3 separate regions of the Homo sapiens genome follow, and regions 2 and 3 are each linked to region 1. Evidence: promoter capture Hi-C in 16 types of primary human blood cells and fetal thymus (Javierre and others, 2016). All regions are on one chromosome and are shown on one strand. The core of a region is centred on a gene start or on the middle of the fragment in contact, and the rest is flanking DNA. Distances in the headings are between cores, read along the strand shown.

The links. The method cuts DNA at HindIII sites, captures the fragments that hold promoters and counts their contacts. A CHiCAGO score of 5 or more calls a contact.
Region 2: a fragment that was not itself captured here is called in contact with the fragment with the promoter of CCL28 in region 1 in 4 of 17 cell types (naive CD4 T cells, activated CD4 T cells, non-activated CD4 T cells and 1 more); the score reaches 6.3 in naive CD4 T cells.
Region 3: a contact is called between a fragment that was not itself captured here and the fragment with the promoter of CCL28 in region 1, in 1 of 17 cell types (naive CD4 T cells). The highest score is 6.5, in naive CD4 T cells.

What each region holds. Positions count from the first base shown.
Region 1 is chr5:43,411,014-43,413,700 of GRCh38, reverse strand. It overlaps CCL28 (C-C motif chemokine ligand 28), which reads left to right and starts at 1,310. Exons shown (of 3, transcript NM_148672.3): 1 at 1,310-1,448. The coding sequence starts at 1,385. The HindIII fragment of the contact is 1,630 bases long and covers 801-2,430 here.
Region 2 is chr5:42,879,918-42,882,604 of GRCh38, reverse strand. No RefSeq gene overlaps it. Among named protein-coding and RNA genes, the nearest start is that of SELENOP, 69 kb to the right of the region's middle. The HindIII fragment of the contact is 2,449 bases long and covers 110-2,558 here.
Region 3 is chr5:42,896,124-42,898,810 of GRCh38, reverse strand. It overlaps the pseudogene PRELID3BP4. Among named protein-coding and RNA genes, the nearest start is that of SELENOP, 86 kb to the right of the region's middle. The HindIII fragment of the contact is 4,195 bases long and covers 1-2,687 here.

The DNA.
Region 1 (2,687 bases), core at 61-2,560:
CAGTGATTTCAGTTTCTATTTCCAAGATGATGCCACTTTGCTGCATCTTTTGGAGAGAAGGAGCATTGTGTACTCACCTGGCAGAAGAGCAGAAGGTACCAACCCATTCCCACAAGCCCTTTTTATAGTAGCATTCATCCATTCATGAGGGTGGAGCCATCATAACCTAAACATTGTCCATTAGGCCCTATCTCCCAGCACTATTAGGGATTAATTTTCAACATGAGCTTTGGAGAAGAAAAAAATATTCAAACCACAGCAGTAATTTGAAAACATAAAAAGAAATGGGTGAAATTAATTTTAATAATATATTTTATTTAACCCAAAAAGTCCAAAATACTATCATGTAATCAATAAACAGTATAAACATTATTAACAAGATATTTTATATTTTTTTCTGTACCCAGTCTTTGAAATCCAGTGTGAATTTTATACCCATAGTACATCTGAGTTTGGACTACTCATATTTCAAGTGCTCAAGAGCCACATGTGGGCTAGCGGCTACCACATAGGACAACACAGTTCTAGAGGAAGCATGGCATGACTTTGGAGGTCATCTAGTCTGACTTGTTATTTACAGCAAAGTTAAGTACGTTGCCTGAGGTTATACAACTTATTAGTAGATGAGGAACAATTAGAATCCAATTATCTTCATGCTACCCCATGCTTTTATTCACAAAGCTGATTGGCAGCAAAGCTGCACTAGCGCTCATGCCTCTTCACACCTGCTCTTGGGCTCTTTTCTACAAGGCATTGCCCCCCTTCCTGTCTTTCTCCTAAATAAGCTATTGTAAAAAGCTTCACTGGAAACAATTTGGCTGTGAACCAAGACTAAAGTGGGGTTTAATACTTCCATATCTTTCCACAAAGATACATTTTTTATGACTTGTCACCCTTGTCCCCAGAAACTCATGGTTTCCATAAGCTACTTAAAAACTGATTATGCAATGGGTCTCAACATAAGTGTCCATCAGAATCACCTATAGAGCTTTTACAAAATTCAAATGACTGGTCTCCTACCTGGGAGTTCTGGTTTACAAATCAGGGAAAGGGGAGAGTCATTTAGATTGATTTTTTTTAATGTTCCCCAAATGATTCTGATGCACACCCCACCTCACAGTGACCCTGCCAGCTGCCAGATCTCCATTGACATCCCCTGACCCCCAGGCAGGATGAACACAAGTTAGGAGCTTAATAAGTCGAGGAGGAGCCTGGTCTTAAGGAAAGAAACATGAGAAATAGATACCCTGAACACCTCCCAGGGCGGGGCCACCTGGCTTACTTTTCCTCTGCACTTTCTCTGTGCCCAAGGACACCTTTAGCCTCATTTCCTGATCGAACAGCCTCACTTGTGTTGCTGTCAGTGCCAGTAGGGCAGGCAGGAATGCAGCAGAGAGGACTCGCCATCGTGGCCTTGGCTGTCTGTGCGGCCCTACATGCCTCAGAAGGTGAGTGGGGGCACTGGACACTTAGGCCTTCACTGGAAAGGGGGGTATCTCCCAAATCTGTGCTGGAAGGATTGAGGTGGGGCAAGAATATCTATCTCTTCAAGCAGGAATTTCCAATTGATTTCTGATTACCTACAAGAGAATGACATAGCTTTAAATTCTAGATCTCCCAGAAGTTTCAGGAAGGAACCTCATTCTAACAGGCATACTACAAATTTTTGCCACCTGGAGGATGAGGTCCTTCCATGTAGGTACAACTTCGAGCTATGTTTCCTTTTCTGAAGACAGTATCTTAGAAAATCCCCAGCTAGAGGCTGGAGTAAAGCCCCTACTATTCATCTGTCTTCCTCCACACCCCAACCTGCTAAACGGTCTGAACACAACTGTGCACATTCCTGGAGGGAAATACAGACTTGGCCAGCTGCGTTCAAATTAGGTAAGTTGTAAATTTCCTGAGCAAAGTCAGCTCTATGGATACAGAAAACTGAAACTTCAGTCTGACCTTTAAAAAGGGAGGGCAGAGCTGAGCACAGTGGTGCATGCCTGTATTCCCACCTACTTGGGAGGCTACGGCTGGAGGATAGCTTCAGGCCAGGAATTCAAGATTGCAGTGAGCTATGATCACACTGTGAATTGCCACTGCACTCTGAATTGCCACTGCACTCCAGCTTGGGCAACATAGTAAAACCCCATCTGTTAAAAACAAAAAGAGGGGAGGGGAGGGGAAAGAGAAGGAAAGGAAGAAAGGAAAGGAAAGAAAGAAAAAGAAGAAAAGCAGGATGAGGGAGATTGAACCATACAAATTATGTCAAAGAGAATTTAAATCGTGAGTTGCTAGCATGTATTTGGAGATTGTAACTGCATTTGAACTAGAGGGAATCTCTTCTAAAGTAGCACTCACTACTATATTCAGGAAACCCTAAGTGTCAGTACTTAATACTTGACCAATGACTCTTTTCCATTGTCATCTTTTCTTTAAGCTTTATCCTGAACAGATTCTCTAAGTCTAGAGCAGAGGTGGAATATAAGTCTTTGGTCTGCTTTTTAAAAATCTGAGCCAACATTTTAAAACTGAAAGCTTTCTCATGTACATACTCATACATACACACATACAAATTGGATTTTAAAGCTTCTCTTGAGAAATCAGATGTGGCAACAATGATTCCACCATACCATGGCAAGAACTGGCTAAAGCAGATGAGCCTCTGAAGTTTGCTGTATTAACTGCCTGGTCCCTGC
Region 2 (2,687 bases), core at 85-2,584, 530 kb after region 1:
CAGAATGATATAAAACTAGAAATCAAGAGAAATTTTGGAAAACTCACAAACACATAGAAATATTCAATAAAAGATCTAGTCTGTAATCCAGAACTACTGAGTCAAAGCTTCCAACTGTGAGGGCTAAGAAGTTTTGTTTTAAAAATTTCTGATATGGCAAGTTCAATAATATGAAATCTAGCTAGAACTAGTGATAACGTTTGGTAGATTTACCCCAAATTATTCTTTGTGAATAATTTTATTTATTCATTTTATATACAATTATGGGATGATATTGTATATTGTATTTGTATTCAGGCAGAACCCCAAGCCCAATTAGCTTAAGCAAACAGAGTTTATTGGCTTATGACTGAGAAGTCTAAAGCTGGTTCTGACTTTAATAACTACTCAACCTAGGGTGTCTGATATCTTCACCATCTTTATTTGGGAGTTAAGGCCTTTCTTTTCCTTAACCAAGTTCTAGGAAGAAAAGGTCCAGGACTTGTTTTCATTAGCCTGTCTTTCATGATGTACCAAGGAAATGAGTTACCTTAATTTAATCTAATTAACGTTTTTGACCTATGTGGGTTGGAGTCAAAGCACCACTTGAAACACGTGAGATGTTTTTCCCATAGGAAAGGGAAGTTCTATTAGCAGAAGAAGGAGGGGAAAGACATCTGCTGATCAGAAGAAAATAACAGATGTGATTAACACGCACTACATAGTTCTGCTTCCTGCTGTTTTCACTTAATGTTGTATACTCATCACTTTTTCATATCCTCAAAAATTCTTTGAAAATCTGATATTTTATTACCACACAATATTCTACTTTATATGGACAGTCTATTGGTTATCAATTGCTGCAAAATAAATTACCCTCAACAGCGTAAAACAACAAAAAATCTATTATATCCTATAGTTTCTCAGTGTCAGGAATACCTGAGTGGCTTAGCTGGGTAGTTTTGGCCACATTCTGTCATGAGTTTGCAGTCAAGCTGTCCGCTAGAGGGAAGATGTTGGTCAAAGGGCACACAATTTCAGTTATATAAGATAAATAAGTCCTAGAGACCTACTGTACAGCATAGCACCTGTAGTTAAAGATACTGTATTGAATACCTAATTTTCTAAGAGCATAGATCCTAAATGCTCTTATCACAAAATAAAATATAAAATAAAAGAGGCTCCTGCTTTTTGTCTTTCCACATTCTGCCCCAGGCCATCTCCCAGGCCCTGGGAACATCTTTGGCTTGTGCAAGAGCAGATCAGAAGTGCCAGGGGTTAAAGCCCTTGAGACCAACCCTTGGGAGAATGGTGTTGGAGTATTTGCTCCGCCTTCCATCTTTCAGGTGAACCATTCAGAGAAAGTCTGTACACCACTCAGAAGTCCCAGCAGAATTGAATCTCCATTGCTGATGGCAGGGACCTCAGTAATGCATCCTTACATGAGCTCTCCCTGCTTCCTCATGTCCCTCTCCAAGCTCCCTTGACCTGGTTCCCTAGTAGATCTTTTTAAATAAACTGCTTGCACCTAGTCCTTGTCTCAGGGTTTGAGTTCAAGGAAATACAAAACAAATCACCCTTTAAAACTATTTTTAAAAATTATATGGCATCAATATTTCAAACAGTTATGTAGCAACCATCTTGTTGAGCTAAACTCAAAGTCCCAGAAAAGGGAACAAGGATTCTTTACTGTCATACTAAGTAAATGTAATATTGTGTACATACCCTGTCTTACTGTGTTTTTGAATTAGTTAAAAGCCATCTCCATATTTTCTTAAGTAAACACATTATAGCCAATTGCACAATAGATGCTAACAGAAAACATTACTTTTCAGATATGGAATGTTCTAAGCAATATATTTCAAAGATTGTAAGAGATTTTCCTCCAAGAAAATGAGAGTAATTAAAATCCTCCGTATTTGGCATCCTCTTTCCTGGGATGATTAAGGCCTCCAGCTCTTGGCAGGTCAAGCCATTAAGGAAATCTGTGTGGCCATTTGAACAGGAAGGATTATACACTGACTACAGTTATCACTGGTCCAGAGGTAGAACATGCCAAAACTACTATTCAGGATAATTTTGAACTTGCTGATATGTCAATTTCAGTAAACAGAGTAACAAAGGACAGCCTGAAGTTTCCTGGGCTGGTGATGTGTGAACCCCCACGATTCTATGCAAGTCCAATTGCTAGAGAAGTGGCTTCAAATCAACTCTAAATTACTTTGGGCATATAGGAGGAGGGGAAGGAAGATGGCTACTCCATTAGTCCTCTTTATCCTTAATTTTTACAAATTGTGTGTATACTTTACGCAGTAGAAATTTACACTACAAATTCTGAATAAATCAACATGCTATCATTGTTTACCATCACTATAAAATGGTGGAAGAGTAAGTCCATTTATTCATGCAGAGATGAAACAGTTTTAAATTTATATTTTAACCTCATTAAAATTCTCAACTTACAAAAAGAACTACTAGCCAATCTCTTAGCCCAAGTGTCTGTTAAAACACTTGTTTGTTTGGGAACTTAACTGAAAACACAATTCTCAAGGAAATTGGCAGAATTATAACTATAAGCTTATAGTGACTCAATATATATTAAAAAGTTAAGGTAAAAAATATAAGAAAATGCTAATATGTAAACACTGCAAATATTTTAGTGAAGTAGAAAATACTTCTATCATATAAGGAACCAGTCTAATTTATGC
Region 3 (2,687 bases), core at 118-2,617, 510 kb after region 1:
TCATGGAATGAATAATATGCAGTGTGCTAAGGAACCCTTCTTTTAGATCTGCTTAAAATTGTGATGGTTCTTTTATTGAAATTATACACATTGTTTAAAGCCTTTTCCTTATTTTCCACCTGTGAAATCAAGACCGGTAAATCAAGATTGGTATAGATGGGCCCAAAGCTGACAGAAAGGGGGCAGGGATCCAACTCAGAGCTTTTTTTTCCTTCTTCTTTTTCCTTTTTTTTTTTTCTTTTGAGGTGGGGTCTCACTTTTTTGCCCAGGCTGGCATGCAATGGTACGATCATGCTTTAGTCTAAATCCCAGGGGGCCTTTCAGGAGCTGTGGATACTAACAAGGTGGGAGGGGACAGCTGGGTGGATCACTTGCTGGAGTTTCGAAGCTGACTGTGACCTCCCAGATGAAGGCAGGAAACAGACATTAATAATGTTCTTTAAATCGAGCTCCCCAACCTTTCTGGCACCAGGGATTTGTTGCGTGGAAGGCAATTTTTCCATGGATGGCTGGTAAGGGTTGGGGGGATGTTTTATGATGAAACTGTTCCACCTCAGATCTTCAGGCATTAGATTCTTATGAGGAGCATGCAAGGTAGATCCCTTGCAGTGCCAGTTCACATTAAGGTTGGTGCTCCTATGAGAATCTAATGCCATAGTTGATCTGACAGGAGGCAGAGCCCAGGCAGTAATGCTTTCTTGCCTGCTGCTCACCTCCTCCTGTGTGGCCTGGTTCCTATTAGTCCACAGGCTGGTATTAGTCTGTTTCTGGGGGATTGAGACCCCTGCTTTAAATTGTTTATAAGTTACATCGTATAATAATAAGTGGTGAAGGAGGAGGTTGGGATGCCCTTCACGTGGGGTTGATGGCACACAGTGAAGCTGGCTGGGATGCTGGGAGTCAGGTGGGGCAGGTGTAGCCTCTTTGTCTCATTTATCCTGCACTGCCCCGACATCTCTAAGGCTGCCTGCTCCATCATAATCTGGACTTCAGAGCATGACTTTGACCACTCATAGGAAACTGTTACAACAATTGGAATGCACAAATGCCCAAACCCTATGAACATGAGCATGGCTGGGGTTGGTGTACTGGACAGACATAGATCCCTCTGGAGAGTTGCACAACCACAGACTTCTCCACCAAGAGTAGGAACTGCCTTCCATTGTGAAGTCTCTTATTGGTACAGCAAGAACCAAAACATGTACTAGAATATTCTGTAGTTAATCCTATAGAGAAAACAATGGAACTTAAATCTACGAATATTTCATTTACAAATATGGTTTTAGTAGATGAGAGATATACACAAACCACATCATCAGGACACAGAAAAAAACTAGTTTGCCTCAAGAAGCTGTAAGTAGTGAAAGGAAGGAGCCTCAGCAGATACCTTGAAAAAACCGGTGGCAAGAACAGTATCTTCAAATGCTAATAAAGGCTGAGAAGCACTGGAATGGGTCATACATAAATTACATGTTAATATTGAAGAATTGACAGCTTCCAAAAGAGGAAGCCTAAGAATTCTGATGGTGGCTGCAGAATTTGTAAAGAATTGATAATGAATGTGTGTAGACAATATCAAGTACCTCGGGTCTCTCCAAGTTATATTTATTTTAAAAATGTAACTATATTTTAAGTACAATTATTAAAAAACAGGCAGATATAAGACTATGCAATTTTAGATAAAGAGAAATAGTTGCAAGACATCTAAATAAAAGGGATCATCTGAAATTAGTGTTGTTTGAAATGACTAATTTTGAACATTCTAGTATTTATGTGAAAATTTAACAATTTCTTTGAAAGAAATTCTTTGAAAGAATTTTCAATTACTTTGAAAGAAACTAGATGTTGGCATTAAGTCAGGGTACATGTGTGGGATCGTTGTTTAGGTGAACATGTGTCATGGGGGTTTGCTGTATGCAGTATTTCATCACTGTGTTAGGCCATTTTCATACTGCTAGGAGAAATACTGGGTCATTTATAAAGTAAAAGAGGCTTAATGGACTCACAGTTCCATATGGCTGGAGGGGCCTCACAATCATGGCAGAAGGGAAAGGAGGAGCAAAGGCACGTCTTACATAGCACCATGCAACAGAGCATGTGCAGGGGAACTGCCCTTTGTAAGACCATCAGATCTCATGAGACTTATTCACTATCATGAGAACGGCATGGGAAAAACGGCCCCATGGTTCTATTACTTCCCACTTGGTCCCTCCCAACACACAAGGGGATTATGGGAGCTACAATTCAAGATGAGATTTGGGTGGGGACACAGCCAAACCATATCAATCACTCAAGTACGGAGCCTAGTACCCATTAGTTATTTTTCCTGCCTCTCTCTCCATTTACCATCCACCCTCCGATAGGCTCCAGTGTCTGTTTTTCCCCTCTATATGTTCTTGTGTTCTCATCATCCAGCTCCCACTTATAAGTGGGAACAAAATTGACTTTTTTTTTTTATTGTGAACTTCCTTGAAACTGTGCCCTCTGTGATGGAGATCATTCTTTATTTAGTGCTTCCTCTCCAAAGTGCCTTAAAGTTTTCACAATTATAAAAACTATCTTTATGCAATCAAGAATATGCTAAGGAGCTTTACTTTTAGGTTAACTCAGAATTCATAGTTCTTTATACATGACAACTGAAGCCTATTCCTTATTCTCAACTTGTGGAATTGATTTGGATTGGGTGG